2 separate regions of the Homo sapiens genome follow, and region 1 is linked to region 2. Evidence: promoter capture Hi-C in human tissues and cell types (Jung and others, 2019). All regions are on one chromosome and are shown on one strand. The core of a region is centred on a gene start or on the middle of the fragment in contact, and the rest is flanking DNA. Distances in the headings are between cores, read along the strand shown.

The links. The method cuts DNA at HindIII sites, captures the fragments that hold promoters and counts their contacts. A contact is called where the count stands out against the background at its distance.
Region 1: the fragment with the promoter of POGZ here is called in contact with a fragment that was not itself captured in region 2 in 1 of the 25 tissues and cell types used here (lymphoblastoid cells).

The regions. Positions count from the first base shown.
Region 1 is chr1:151,458,170-151,464,862 of GRCh38, reverse strand. POGZ (pogo transposable element derived with ZNF domain) reads left to right here and starts at 5,369. Exons shown (of 19, transcript NM_015100.4): 1 at 5,369-5,711. RefSeq lists an enhancer at 5,099-5,148 and silencers at 5,979-6,028, 6,219-6,268. The HindIII fragment of the contact is 8,213 bases long and covers 1,776-6,693 here.
Region 2 is chr1:151,318,156-151,325,598 of GRCh38, reverse strand. All of the region lies in intron 1 of PI4KB (phosphatidylinositol 4-kinase beta), which reads left to right. Among named protein-coding and RNA genes, the nearest start is that of PI4KB, 5.5 kb to the left of the region's middle. The HindIII fragment of the contact is 7,586 bases long and covers 1,525-7,443 here.

The sequences.
Region 1 (6,693 bases), core at 4,120-6,619, 140 kb before region 2:
AATCCCAGGCTCAGTGCAATCAGCTATCCATCTTTTCCACCTGGGAGCTGCTCAGATGGTAAAAATGTCTCTACTGTTTTTCTCTTACGTTTTCTGAAATGAGTAGCTCTCTTTGAGGTTCCAGCTTTGACAATCCTGAGTGTGCATTACAGAGAGTGGGATACCCATTTCTTTCTTTCTTTTTTTTTTTTTTTTTTGAGACGAAGTCTCACACTGTGGCCCGGGATGCTATGCAGTGGCGTGATCTCGGCTTGCTGCAGCCTTCGCTTCCCAGGTTCAAGCAATTCTCCTGTCTCAGCCTCCCAGGTAGCTGGGATTACAGGCATGCACTACCACACCCGGCTAATTTTTTGTATTTTTAGTAGAGACGGGGTTTCACTATTTTGGTCAGGCTGGTCTGAAACTCCTGACCTTGTGATCTGCCCACCTCCGCCTCCCAAAGTGTTGGGATTACAGGCGTGAGCCATCGTGTTCGGCTGTTACCCATTTCTTAAAGAAATCTGGCATTATCTCCCACGAAGCTTATTTCTGCCTGGACTAACCTCACCATCTGAGCCTCCCTACTCCCCGCCCAAACACATACCAGTCAACCTCACGCTGAACCTGAACAATAAGTGATTAGGTCTGCATTTTAGCAAAATGATGCCACCGAGGGCATCCATGACTCAATGCTTTTGAAGACATGCTGAAATCATTTGTCTCTCTTCTTTAACATTCTCCAAGCTACAGGTGGTTCCAATTTTCTTTTGTATGTTTTGTTGTTGTTGTTTGTTTGTTTGTTTTTTGATGGAGTTTCACTCTTCTTGCCCAGGCTGGAGTGCAATGGTGCAATCCTGGCTCGGTGCAATCCTGGCTCACTGCAGCCTCCACCTCCTGGGTTCAAGTGATTCTCCTGCTTCAGCCTCCCAAATAGCTGAGATTACAGGCGCGTTCCACCACGCCTGGCTAATTTTTTGTATTTTTAGTAGAGATGGGGTTTCACCATCTCTACTAAAGACCTTTGGCCAGGCTGGTCTTGAACTCCAGACCTCAGGTGATCTGCCTGCCTTGGCCTCCCAAAGTGCTGGGATTACAGGCATGAGCCACCGTGCCCAGCCCCAATTTTCAACTTGTGGCAGAAACCGTAAGTCAAGGAAGCAAGTAAGTATTTCCATAAACTGTAGAAAAGAAACACTCTCCAGCTATGTAACTGAAAAGCTCAGCTTGGGACATCCATTAACCTTTGACTTTCTTTCTTAGAAAAAGTTTCTAAGTTGGCTACTGAAGACTGGAATAATTTTTAGGAGTACCACTATTAGGATCAAATTTCTTCAACATATCAGACTGGATTGGCTTTCAGATTCCTCCCCAGTATGTTACAGAGGCACATACGAGTTGATTTCTAAGGATCTGATTCAGGTTATTTGTTCTACTACTTGGGTTTCCCATCATCATCAAGATGGTTCAAACCATTATCCAGATGGTCCAAAAGAGAGACCAAAGCTATCAGTTCTGTTACTTCACTCTGGAAACCTGTGTTTTAGCTGAAGAAGCAAAATGTTCCAACACTGTCCAAATTAATATGAGCATTCTCTCTTTAGCACAAGGAATACGTTTCTGGAAATAGCAGTGTTAACTGTATAGTCTCTTTTGAAGTGCTGCACCAGTGTTGTAATGTAAGGTGGCAGAGTTTCCTTGAAATCTTCTGAAGGTATAAAATGTCTTTGCTCATCATTTCCTTTTTTTTTTTTTTTCTTTGAGATGGAGTCTCACTCTGTCACCCAGGCTGGAGTGATGTGGTGTGATCTCGGCTCACTGCAACCTCCACCTCCCGGGTTCAAGCGATTCTCCTGCCTCAGCCTCCTGAGTAGCTAGGACTACAGGCATGTGCCACCACGCCTGGCTAATTTTTGTATTTTTAGTAGAGATGGGGTTTCACCATGTTGGCCAGGCTGGTCTCAAACTCCTGATCTTGTAATCCACCCACCTCGGCCTCCCAAAGTGCTGGGATTACAGGCATGAGCCACCACACCTGGCCAGGATACCTTTTACAACGTCAAAAGACACTCCATTCCCTAATTGCCTGTTGATCTTTACCCTCTGTTTCCTCACCCATTTCCTCAAAGGTGCCTCCAGATCCTGCAAAACTCCCACTTTTACATTTAGCATGATAGACTTTCTGTATTCTTGGTGGCAGGCATAGCACCATCACTCATTTTATTGGGCATTATGGGTCAAAACTGTCTCCCAGGGCACAAACTAAATGACAGAAAAATAGAGAGGAGTAAGTAACACACCACAGAACTCAATCACCTGAAGCAGCAGCTTCACAACTCCCATCCTGGTCCAAGCTACCATCAACTCTCACCTGGATTATTGCAATAGCCTTCTATCTGGTCTCCCTGCATCTGCCCTTGCCTCTATTAGTTATTCTTCACAAGCAGCCACAGTGATCCTTTAAAAACGTGAGTCAGGCCGTGTCACTACTTGCTTTATGATCCTCCAGCAGCTTCATTTTCACTACAGGTAAAACCTAAACTTTGCTTCACTTTCTTCAGGTCTTTGCCCAAATGTCACCTTAACAAGGACTTCTCCAATCACCCCACATAAAATAGCAAATTCTCCACCCCCATGTCTGCACCACACTCCTAATTCCCCTATCCTGCCCTTTACCCTTCATAGCACCTATCACCATTTCATATAATCCATATTTATTTACATAATGTATATCAGATTGCATTTTCCAAGATGGCCACAAGATTTCCCTTTCCGCACACTTTCTTACAATGTGACATTTCCACTATTCCCGTTGAGAGATGGGGATCTATGCTCTCCATCCTGTAACTGTAATGGAAGTAACACTATATGACCTCTGAGACTAGGTCACGATCTCTGTCTGGTCCTTTTGGGGCACTCAGTCTTGGAACTCAGCCACTATGATATGAGGAAGCCCAGGCTACATGGAGAAGCCACTTGTAAATGGTCTGCCAACAACCCCAGCTGCGGTCCAAGCCAACAGTCAACCTCAACTTCCAGACATGTAAGGAAGCTTTTGAGATTACTTCAGCCCTAGCCACTGCATACGAGACTCCCAAGTGAGAACTGTTTAGCTGAGCCTAATTACCTCCCAGAACCATGAGAGGTAATGAAATTGTTGTTTTAAGCCACTAAGTTCGGGGTCATTTGTTATTTAACAATAGACAATAGAACAATTTGTTTATGTGTATATTTTATGTCTCTTTCCTTCTAGAGTATAAATCCCACAGATTCAGGTATTTGTTGTTGTTGTTGCTGCTGTATTCCCAGCACCTAAAACAGTGCCTAGTACATGTGCTCAATAATTTTTTTTTTTTTTTTGAGACAGGATCTTGCTCTGTCCCTCCCAGGCTAGAGTGCAAGTAGTGTCATCATAGCTCACTGCAGTCTCAAACTCCTGGCCTCAAGTGATCCTCCCAAGTCTTCCAAGTATCTAGGAATACCACAACCAGCTAATGAAAAAAATTTTTTGGGGCCAGGCACGGTGGCTCACGCCTGTAATCCCAGCGCTTTGGGAGGCGGAGGCGGGCAGATCACGAGGTCAGGAGTTCGAGACCAGCCTGCTTGGTGAAACCCCGTCTCTACTAAAAACAGAAAAAATTAGCCAGGCATCGTGGCGCACGCCTGTAGTCCCAGCTACTCAGGAGGCTGAGGCAGGAGAATTGCACCCAGCAGGCGGAGGTTGCAGTGAGCCGAGATCGCGCCACTTCACTCCAGCCTGGGGGAGAGAGCGAGACTCTGTTTAAAAAAAAAAAATTTTTTTTTGTAGAGATGGGATGTTGCTAAGTTGCCCAGGCTGCCCTCAGACTGCTGTGATCCTCCTCCCTTGGCCTTCCAAAGTGTTGGGATTACAGGTGTTAGCCACCATGCCCAGCCCCCAATAAATATTCATTGAATGAATGAATGGATGCATGATCCATTTTCAATAAAGCATGCTAACAGTTACTGGTCAACGGTATATGGCATAGTCTGCGCTAGATCTCATTGGCTGGGAGAATAAATTGACAGGGCATGGGGAAATATGTTGGAATTTTTCAAAGGTTAATAACGTAATATACATAATGTAAATATAACATATATAATGAATTATACTAATTACACGACAGTATAAAATAGGATTTGAGTTTCATGTAGTCTTTTGGTGATTGATCCCATAATCCTAATATGGGCTTCTCCAGATCAGGTCTGGAAAGTCTTCAGAAGTATTTTCAGAAGGATTTAGTGATTCTTCTCATTCAAATAATGAAGTCCTTCCTAAGCATCCTACACTAGTGGAAATCACTCACATGGTTTTGGTATGAAATGGAATGAAACTGGGTGGTGGCAGTGTGTGTATGTGTATGCACATGTGCACACTCACACGGGCAGGTGCATACAATTTGGAATGCCTACTTCCACTGCCTATTTTCAGTCTGGTGGTTTGAATGGAGTGTGTATATAAAGAGCACAAATAAACATAGTTCTGGATTTCCCCTTTCTGCACCAAGTACCTTGATTTCACATTTGGTTTGAAGCAAATATTTGTGTATTGCTTAAATAGCAAACATTTTCAAATATTCAAGGAAAATATTACATTTTTATAATCTCAGAAGGCAATAAAGGACAAAATTTCTTAGCTACCTGAAAAGAGGTAGTTTTTGTCTGGGGAAGAATAAACAGGTGGATGGTCGTTTGAGTGGACTAACCAATTTCTTTGAGCCAACCCATCTCAGCCTTGATTGGAGCAAAAAGCATAAGGATGTGGAGTGTGTGTGGTTTCTTGGAACTGGGGATCTCTGCTGAATCTACTCACAATGGGAGCAAAGCAGTTTCCATCACAATAATCGCTTTAACAATCGTGTGCCACTTCTTTCCAGGATCCAGAAGGGCTTGAGGATCAAAATGGCTTTTAAAAGTTCTTCACTTAAACAAGGCCGCAGCCACAAGGTTACTTGGCCGAGTGTCTCTTGAGAAAGAGTGAGTGCCATTTTGTTCTTTGTTCCAATGACAGTTGTTGGTGCCACTGGGCCTCACCACCTGGCCTGTGTCATGAAGTCTCCCTCTTGACTGGGTCTAAGCCTTGAGTGGAAAGTGGGGGAGCCTCCCAACACTTCCTTGGAAACTCTTGGCAAGTAAATTGGGGAATATTTTCTTTGGAAGTCTCATTTTTCTCACCAAAATTTAGATATAGCTTCTGAAGCTAATTATTCTTTTTTCATTACAAAAAATGTTTTCCTTTATTTATTTATTTGCAGGCCCAGCCAAACTTGACTAGAAAAGAAGCCCGGGCAGGGGTTTGGATGAGCCCATGACGTGCAGCGCGCTCCGACCAATTGGGAGGCCGTGAAAAAGGGGAGGGCGGAAGTGACGAGCCGTATCCCTCCGCGGGGCGAGAGGGTCGGTGGGGGGAGTCGGCGTCTCTCTCCCCCGCGCCAGCTCCCGTACACGGAGCCGCATTCCTTGGCCCCCCCACCCCCCTCCCTCGGGGCCCCCCCGCCCCCCTCGGGAAAAAAATCCACCCCGAATCACTCGAACCCGAGGGAGGCTTCCTTTCACCCTTGGGGAGACGAGCTTTCAACGGTTACCTCTTCTTCGTCTCCCCCCAAGCCCCCGTCCCCTCCCCCTGCTCCCACCCCCTTCTGGCGCCGGGTGTAAGGTCCCTTTAAGGCGACGGCGCCTTCCTCGGGTCAGACTACCGGCGGCGACGACCACAGGAGGTGAGTGAGCGAGCGAGCCTTCTCTCTCCCCACCCCCTGCTCCCGGGGGTTCCGTTATCTTTTCGCTCGGCGAGGCGTTCAGAGGCGAGACAATGAGAGGGGGATGGGGCCGGTACGCGCGGGGGTGGGGGCGGGGGGCCGGCGGTGCGCGCCCCCGCCCACCGCGAGTGGCGGCGCGGCCCGCGGCAGGGGCGGCCGCGGGGTGCGGCGCGCGAGCGCGAGTGTGTGTGCGTGCGCCCCGGGCCGCGGGAGCCGCGCGAAGGGCCGGCGGCGGAGGTCCCTGCCTGCCGGCTGGCCGGCCGCCCCCGCCCCCCGGCGCCCGCCGCGGCGCGCGCGCGCGCACTCGCGCCCCACGGCCCCGCACACAGCCCGACGTCCACACGCACGCTCGGCGCGAGGCGTCTCGGAGGAGTGGGCGGCGCGGGCGCGGGCGGTGGCCCGCTGGGGAAGGGGCGGGGGCGGGGGCGCGGGCGGTGGCGAGACGGCGGGGCGCGGCGGGAGGGGCCGGCGAGGGGGCGAGGCCGTGCGGCGGAGGGGCGGGCGGCGGCGGAGCGGCCCCTGGGGGTGGGGGTGCGCGGCCCTCCCCGCCCCATTCCCGCTCCGAGAAGGAGTGGGGCGCTCGTTTTGAGCGGGAGGAGGAAAATGAGTGATTGCTGAGCCGATCCCTTGTGTTATGTAATCTCTGCTTGGTCTAATAGTACATCCTAAGCCTTAGTGCACTGCAGCTAGTTTACGAAGTCTCCTCCCTCGGTCCCCAAATTTCTTTTGGGATGGCGCCGTGATTTATAAAATGGAATGAGGCGGGGAATCTTTATTTTCTGGTGATTATGTCCTGCCGCGGTGGGCGCCATGTTTATCCCGGGGACTATTTTATTTAGATTCTTGGCACCTTTTGCAAAGGAGTACTGTCATTGATCTATTTGTTTTCCGTCTTTCTGCGTGTTGTTCTTATTTCCTTCCTCTCCAGATGTGGGATTCTCTC
Region 2 (7,443 bases), core at 4,068-6,567:
TTCTGTCCTGTTCCTCACGTACTTGATCCATAACTCCAGATTCTATAGGTAGAAAGTATGTTTGTGGGAAAGCACTTTGAGGAAGCTGGCTGGAAAAGAGAACTTGGAGTGAACTGAGACTTAGGCAACTAGTTGCTGCCATGTCTCTCTCAGCCTGTGATAGCGAAAGGGCACGTGAGATTCCATTCATTTTCTGATTCTAGGTCTGTTTGGGAGTAGTTATGTCATCTTATCCCACTTCCTTTCTCTTCCTTGTCGTTAGTCATGGTGCAGTCTCCTCATAATTCCCCTTATTAGAAGCTTTCCTGCCAGGCGCGGTGGCTCACACCTGTAATCCCAGCATTTTGGGAGGCCGAGGCAGGCAGATCACCCGAGGTCAGGAGTTCAAGACCAGTCCGGCCAACATGGTGAAACCCCATCTCTACTAAAAATACAAAAAATTAGCCGGGCATGGTGGCGAGCTTCTGTAATCCCAGCTACTCCGGAGGCTGAAGCAGGAGAATTACTTGAACCCAGGAGGCGAAGGTTGCAGTGAGCCGAGATCACGCCACTGCACTCCAGCCTGGGTGACTGAGTGAAACTCTGTCTCAGGAAAAAAAAAAAAAAAAAAGCAGCTTTCCTCCTTGGAAGCATCCCCAACCAGAAATCATATTTCCTCTCATTTCCCTGCTTTCTTCTTAGAGTTGAGTCCACGCTCCATGAGAATGCTGAACACCATCCAAAGCAGCAAATTGAGATTCCTTGATTTGGGGAAGAGGTTTGGGAGGAACCCTTCAATAATTGGCATGGGACAAGAGGGGACCCAGTCCAAGTGTATTTGGGACTCGCAGTAGGGAGGAACAATTCAGAGAGAGGTGAGTGCACAGGCTGCTTTCTTTGCCATCTGTTTCAGTAGCGGCTCCCATAGCTGGCTTGGGCTGTCTGGCTGGAATCTGCTTATACCAGCTCCATGGCTCTGCACAGAGTTCTCAGCCTGAATCAATATTGACTTAACTACCATGAGACCACTGCCCTCCCTACCCTCGTGCTAGTAGCTTGAGAATGCCCTCTCCCCTAATGCCCACACTCTCTGGGCCCTTGTGTCAGCAGTTACCTGGATCCTGGTAGGGCTGGAGCTGGCTTGACTGCCTGGCCCTGAGTTTCTATAAGGAAAAAGGAGTACTCAATCTCTACCTTTACCATTGAGGTCAAAGGGGAGAGATGAGTTGAGACATCCTTAAAGAAAGGTTTGAGTTAGACATTAAGACATGAGGAGGAACTCCTCAACAGCAGAACAGGCAGTCAAAGATGATATGGAGTCTCTTTTGAGGAGCAACCTCTCTTTAAAAATTATTTTTGGGCTGGGCACCGTGGCTCATGCCCGTAATCCCAGCACTTCGGGAGGCTGAGGTGGGCGGATCACTTGAGGTCAAGAGTTGGAAACCAGCCTGGCATGTTCGAGACAACATGGTGAAACCCCATCTCTACTAAAAATACAAAAATTAGCCAGGTGTGGTGGCGTGTGCCTGTAATTCCAGCTACTCGGGAGGCTGAGGCAGAGAATCACTTGAACCTGAGAGGCAGAAGTTGCAGTGAGCTGAGATGGCGCCACTGCACTCCAGCCTGGGTAACAGAGCGAGACTCCATCTCAAAAAAAAAAAAATTTTTTTTTGAAGGAATGCATGCATTTGGTAACAAATCCAATGGTACTCAAAGAGTTTATGAAGAAAAACAGCAGTCCTGTTTCCGTTCATCCCTACTCCTGTTCTCGCAGAGTTAACCTCCTTAATTATCTCAGTGTTCTGAAGGTTATCACCATAGCTTTAGATAAAATGCTTGTTCCTCTATTTCTTTGTTTTTTTGTTTGTTTTTGTTGTTGTTTTTGTTTGTTTGTTTGAGATGGAGTCTCGTTCTGTCGCCCAGGCTAGAGTGCAGTGGCACGATCTCGGCTCACTGCAACCTCTGCCTCAGGGTTCAAGCAGTTCTCCTGCCTCAGCCTCCCGAGTAGCTGGGATTACAGGTGCCCGCCACCACGCCTGGCTAAGTTTTTGTATTTTTTGGTAGAGATGGGGTTTCACCATGTTGGCCAGGCTGGTCACGAACTCCTGACCTCAGGTGATCCACCCACCCCGGCCTCCCAGAGTGCTGGGATTACAGCGATCTCAGCTCACGGCAACCTGCGCCTCCCAGGTTTAAGCGATTGTTCTGCCTCAGCCTCCCGAGTAGCTGAGATTACAGGCACCCGCCACCATGCCTGGCTAGTTTTTTATATTTTTTAGTAGAGACGGGGTTTCACCATGTTGGCCAGGCTGGTCACAAAGTGCTGACCTCAGGTGATCCACCCGCCTCAGCCTCCCAGAGTGCTGGGATTACAGGCATGAGCCACTGCACCTGGCCATTTGTTCCTCTATTTCTTTACTTATTGTTACAAACAAGGATTTAGCTTTAGAGGATATACCTCTCATTTATATAATTATGTCATTTTTATTTCTTCTACTGGACACCTGTATAACTTTAAATAATATTTAATATATTTGAACCTTTCTTTCTTTTCCATTAACTTTTGACAGTCTCTCTTAATTCACCTTGTAGAATGAACGTCAGATATTGGTTTCCTTACCCGTTTTTCCATCTCTTGTGGATCCATCTCAAAGGACTGTGAGATGTATAAAAAAAGGATAGAGGAGACTAGTTGTGGTGGCTCATGCTTTGTAATCTCAGCACTTTGGGAGGCCTAGGCGGGAGGGTAGCTTGAGGCCAGGAAGAAGCTTTCCTCCTTGGAAGCATCCCCAACCAGAAATCGTATAGTGAGCCATGATTCCACCACTGCACTCCAACCTGGGCAACAGAGTAAGAGCCTGTCTCTTAAGAAAGAAAAAGGAAAAAAATAAAAAGGCAAGGGGTGGGGAAATAAAGGATCCTTTAAAAGGAGGAAAATTGAGCCAGCCTGCCTGCTTGGAAGCAGGGCACTAGATCAGATGATCTCTTAAAGCCATTCTATGAAAATATAAGAACATAAAAATATCAGAATTGGTGCAAACCAATCCATATTTATCTAGTCCATGGAAAAAATTTTGAAAAAGAGAATGGTGATTAACTGGGTGAGGGGATTGATTTGGGGCTCTTTACCATTCTGTCCTAGCAGAGACTGATCCAATAAGTCCTTTAATGGAGGCCAGTAGAAAGTTGTTTGCCTGGAATCTTTTGAGGTGATAAGAAATGGGGAGCTAGGTTAAGCGATAGCATCTCCTCCCCAGAGAGTCCTCTGCAGACATGTATTTTAACTGCTCAGTCACACAGAACATATGTGTATATCTTCTGTGTCTTCTCCAGCTGCTGCTCTGTGTGACCTGTAACAATTCCTTGTCACTCAGACCAGAATTCCCTACTTTGCCCAGTTGGGAGCTGTGGAACTCAGTCAGTTGTCAACTTTTCCTAGGGGCCAGCTGTTAGGCTGTGGAACAGGGGAGGCCTCTTCCATTTCCCTTCCAGTCTGACTGGAAGGAGAATTTAGGTTCCCAGTGTGAAGTGTAGAGCCTCAGTTGTCTGAACCCCCTTGAAGGCCATAGGAGTCATTTAATATTAAAAATTTAGATTGTCTTCCGTCACTTTTTTCTTATTCCTCTGACTTAGAAGGGGAAGGCTGTTGAATACAGGACTTTTTCCTTCACCTTTTCTTTTGCTTTCCAGTCCTTTCATTTTCTTTAGAACAGTTACCCTCAAAGGCTTTTTTTTTTTTTTTTTTTTAAGACAGAGTCTCACTCTGTCGCCCAGGCTGGAGTGCAGTGGTGTGATCTCGGCTCACTGCAAGCTCCGCCTCCTGGGTTCATGCTATTCTCCTGCCTCAGCCTCCCAAGTGGCTGGGACTACAGGTGCCCACCACCATGCCCGGCTAATTTTTTGTATTTTTAGTAGAGACGGGGTTTCACTGTGTTAGCCAGGATGGTCTCCATCTCCTGACCTCGTGATCTGCCCTCCTCAGCCTCCCAAAGTGCTGGGATTACAGGCGTGAGCCACCATGCCCTGCCCACAAAGGCATATTTTCTTGGCATTCAAAACTAAATGAAGCAAGCTGGGCATGGTGGCGGGTGTCTGTAATCCCAGCTACTTGGGAGGCTGAGGCAGGAGAATCGCTTGAACCTGGGAGGCGGAGGTTGCGGTGAGCCAACATTGCGCCACTGCACTCCACTCCAGCCAGGGCAACAGAGCAAGACTCTGTCTCAAAAAAATAAATAAAATAAAAATAATAGTAATAATAAATAGCTAAAGCAATTTAACCCTATTCCCTACAACACCTTCTTCTCCATATGACTTGCTTCAGATGCAGGCAGTGCCTGGGTTCCTGAGAGGCCAGGGAAGAGACCCAGCTCCAGTTTGGTGGTTTCTAGTGGTAGAGCTGCTTATATAGGAGAGGAGTCTGTTTTTTCCTGCACCTCTCAACACTGTCTAGCTCCCTGAGGAGTAAAAGCTGCCGGGAGGGAGAGTCTGTTCAGTAGCAAAATCCTCTGAATACTGTGATGTGATTCTTAGCTGAGCCCTGGGAGTTTTTCTTTTGTCTGTGAGATAAAAGAGGTGATAGTATCCTTATTTGCCTTCCTGGTGCCAGTAATAATCCCAATCGTAGTTAATTGGGGCAGGCATCTGCTAAATTTTCTAGTGAGGTCTGAGACACTATTATGTGGGAGAATGTCTGAACTGTATTTCCCTTGAAAGTTTTGAAAAGTGTACTTCTAGGAGCTTTCAGTGACTTAAAAGTCTGTGGACTAGAGGGAGAGGAAAGGATGTACCAAACATAGAGACTGAGAAAAAGAAGTTGATTGTTTAAGATGATTGAGGCTATCACATGAGTTTCTAAGCAGACCTAAAAGGTAGTGGTCCCCGTTGAATCGGTGACCCTCTGATGAGAGTGCCCTACGAAGGTGTGGCAGGGAATGATTAAAGCTTCCTTCTTATTATTCCTGTGCAACTCACAGTTGCGAGTAGGGACAGATCCACATAGGCAGCCATGCTGGTTCTACTGCTCAGAGGGCACTACCTAATTTTGGGAGAGAGCATAGTGAAAGAGTTGCCACCTTCTTACCAATACCAAGCTCAATCTGCATCAGGGATATTAAATTCAGGAATGAACTTGCTTGGCAGAGTTGGCAGAAAGAAACAGAAATAGCCTTTTTTGGTGATCTCTGAGAACAGAAGAGTTCCCCATCCGTCTTTCTGCAAAACTTTAGTGGTGACTGCTGGGAGGCAGGGAGCTGGACTATATGATATTGGGCAGTTAAAAGTAACCTGGGGCCGGGCGCGGCAGCTCACACCTGTAATCCCAGCACTTTGGGAGGCCGAGGTGGGCAGATCACGAGGTCAGGAAATCGAGACCATCCTGGCTAACATGGTGAAACCCTGCCTCTACTAAAAATACAAAAAATTAGCCGGGCGTGGTGGCGGGCATCTGTAGTCCCAACTACTTGTGAGCCTGAGGCAGGAGAATGGCATGAACCCGGGAAGCGGAGCTTGCAGTGAGCCAAGATTGCACCACTGCACTCCAGCCTGGGCGACAGAGCGAGACTCCGTCTCAAAAAGAAAAAAAAAGTAACCTTAACATTTCAGACGTACAAGAACAGACACTGGAAGGGTGGTGGTGGAAAACAGCCTCCCAGAGGGACTAAAGAATCTCTAGGCCTCCTTATTCCACCTACCCAAAGTATATGCATCCAGGGTCACCGGGGTTGAAGGTGATGTCACTAATATTTTGAAATTACCTGTATTCCAACTCTACAAAATCTTTCCTCTTGCTCATGCTCTTGAGTGTGTCTTAGACTCACTCTATTAGCATTTTTGTGAAGAGGCCTCTGAGTCTGAGTCCTTTGTTAGCTATAGTCAGATTCTGGAGCCAGGTTGATCTGATGAAATTTCCCCAGTTCTGCACTGATTCCAGATTTGGTGAGGCTCTGAAGGATTGTTCTTGGAGAGCAGTGGCTTTGGTCAGCAGTGTTCTTTCATTGAACTTCCTTCCAACAGTCCCTCCAGAGGAGGTGTTCTTTGTTTTGTGACTCCTGTTCCTCCCTGTTCTTTGGAAGGCCTAGATCTATGAGTCCTAGTCTGATTTCTTTTTGCCTTTTCAATTGTCCCTCCAGTTGTTAGAATGTGTGTATGACAGTGGGGGGAGTGGTATTGGGGCAGAAAAGGCTGTCATAAGTATTTCTGGAAGATTCTCAAACAATTGGAACTCTTTGCTTCCCTTATAAAATAATATAAGTTTTATGTTACACACACACTGGTTAGTAACCTTTTAGGTGATGAGGATTCAACTAGCATTTCTTTTTTTTTTTTTTGAGACAGAGTCTCGCTGGTCTTGAACTGCTGACCTCAAAGTGATCCACCTGCCTCAGCCACCCAGTGCACTGGGATTACAGGCATGAGTCACTGTGCCCGGCCTCAACTAGCATATATTGAGTACTACTATGTATCAAAGACTGTGCTAGATTCTTTCATACACGTGATGGTATTTGTTCCACATAGCAACAATGAGAAGGAAGTGTTTTTTCCCAATTTGCAGTTGAGGATAAATGGCTTGCATAAGTTGCACATTTCTGAAAGGCTGAATGAGGATTTTCAACCCCAGCCTATTTGCCTTCAAGTCCAGAGCTCTTTCCATTATATGTTAGCAGCCACGGCACTGGAGAAAGAGGGTGTGATGTCATGATGTCAGACAACCAGAGAAACGGCACAGCTTCAGCAGGGTTGATGATGGTTGTTTTAGAGCTGCCTTCTTCTAAGTGAAGCCTGGCATGGTATTTACTGGCCTTTATTTTCTGGGAACTTCGAGTTTAAAAGGGAAGGTAAAAAAATACCTGTAACCAGAAAAATATATCAAGACTTTAATTTTATTTATTTATTTATTTATTTATTTATTTGAGACAGAGTTTCGCTCTGTTGCCCAGGCTGGAGTGCAGCGGTGCGATCTCGGCTCACCACAACCTCTGCCTCCCGGGTTCAAGCGATTCTCCTGCCTCAGCCTCCCAAGTAGCTGGGATTACAGGCATGCGCCACCACGCCCAGCTAATTTTGTATTTTTAGTAGAGACGAGGTTTCTCCATGTTGGTCAGGCTGGTCTCGAACTCCTGACCTCAGGTAATCCGCCTGCCTCAGCCTCCCAAAGTGCTGGGATTACAGGCGTGAGCCACCGCGCCCGGCCTTTTTTTTTTTTTTTGAGACAGAGTCTCACTCTGTCTCCAGGCTGGAGTGCAATGGCGTAATCTCGGCTCACTGCAACCTCCACCTCCCAGGTTCAAGCAATTCTCCGGCCTCAGCCTCCTGAGTAGCTGGGATTACAGGCGCCTGCCACCACGCCTGGCTAATTTTTGTATTTTTAGTAGAGACGGGGTTTCACCATGTTGGCCAGGATGGTCTCGATCTCTTGACCTCGTGATCTGCCCACCTCGGCCTCCCAAAGTGCTGGGATTACAGGCG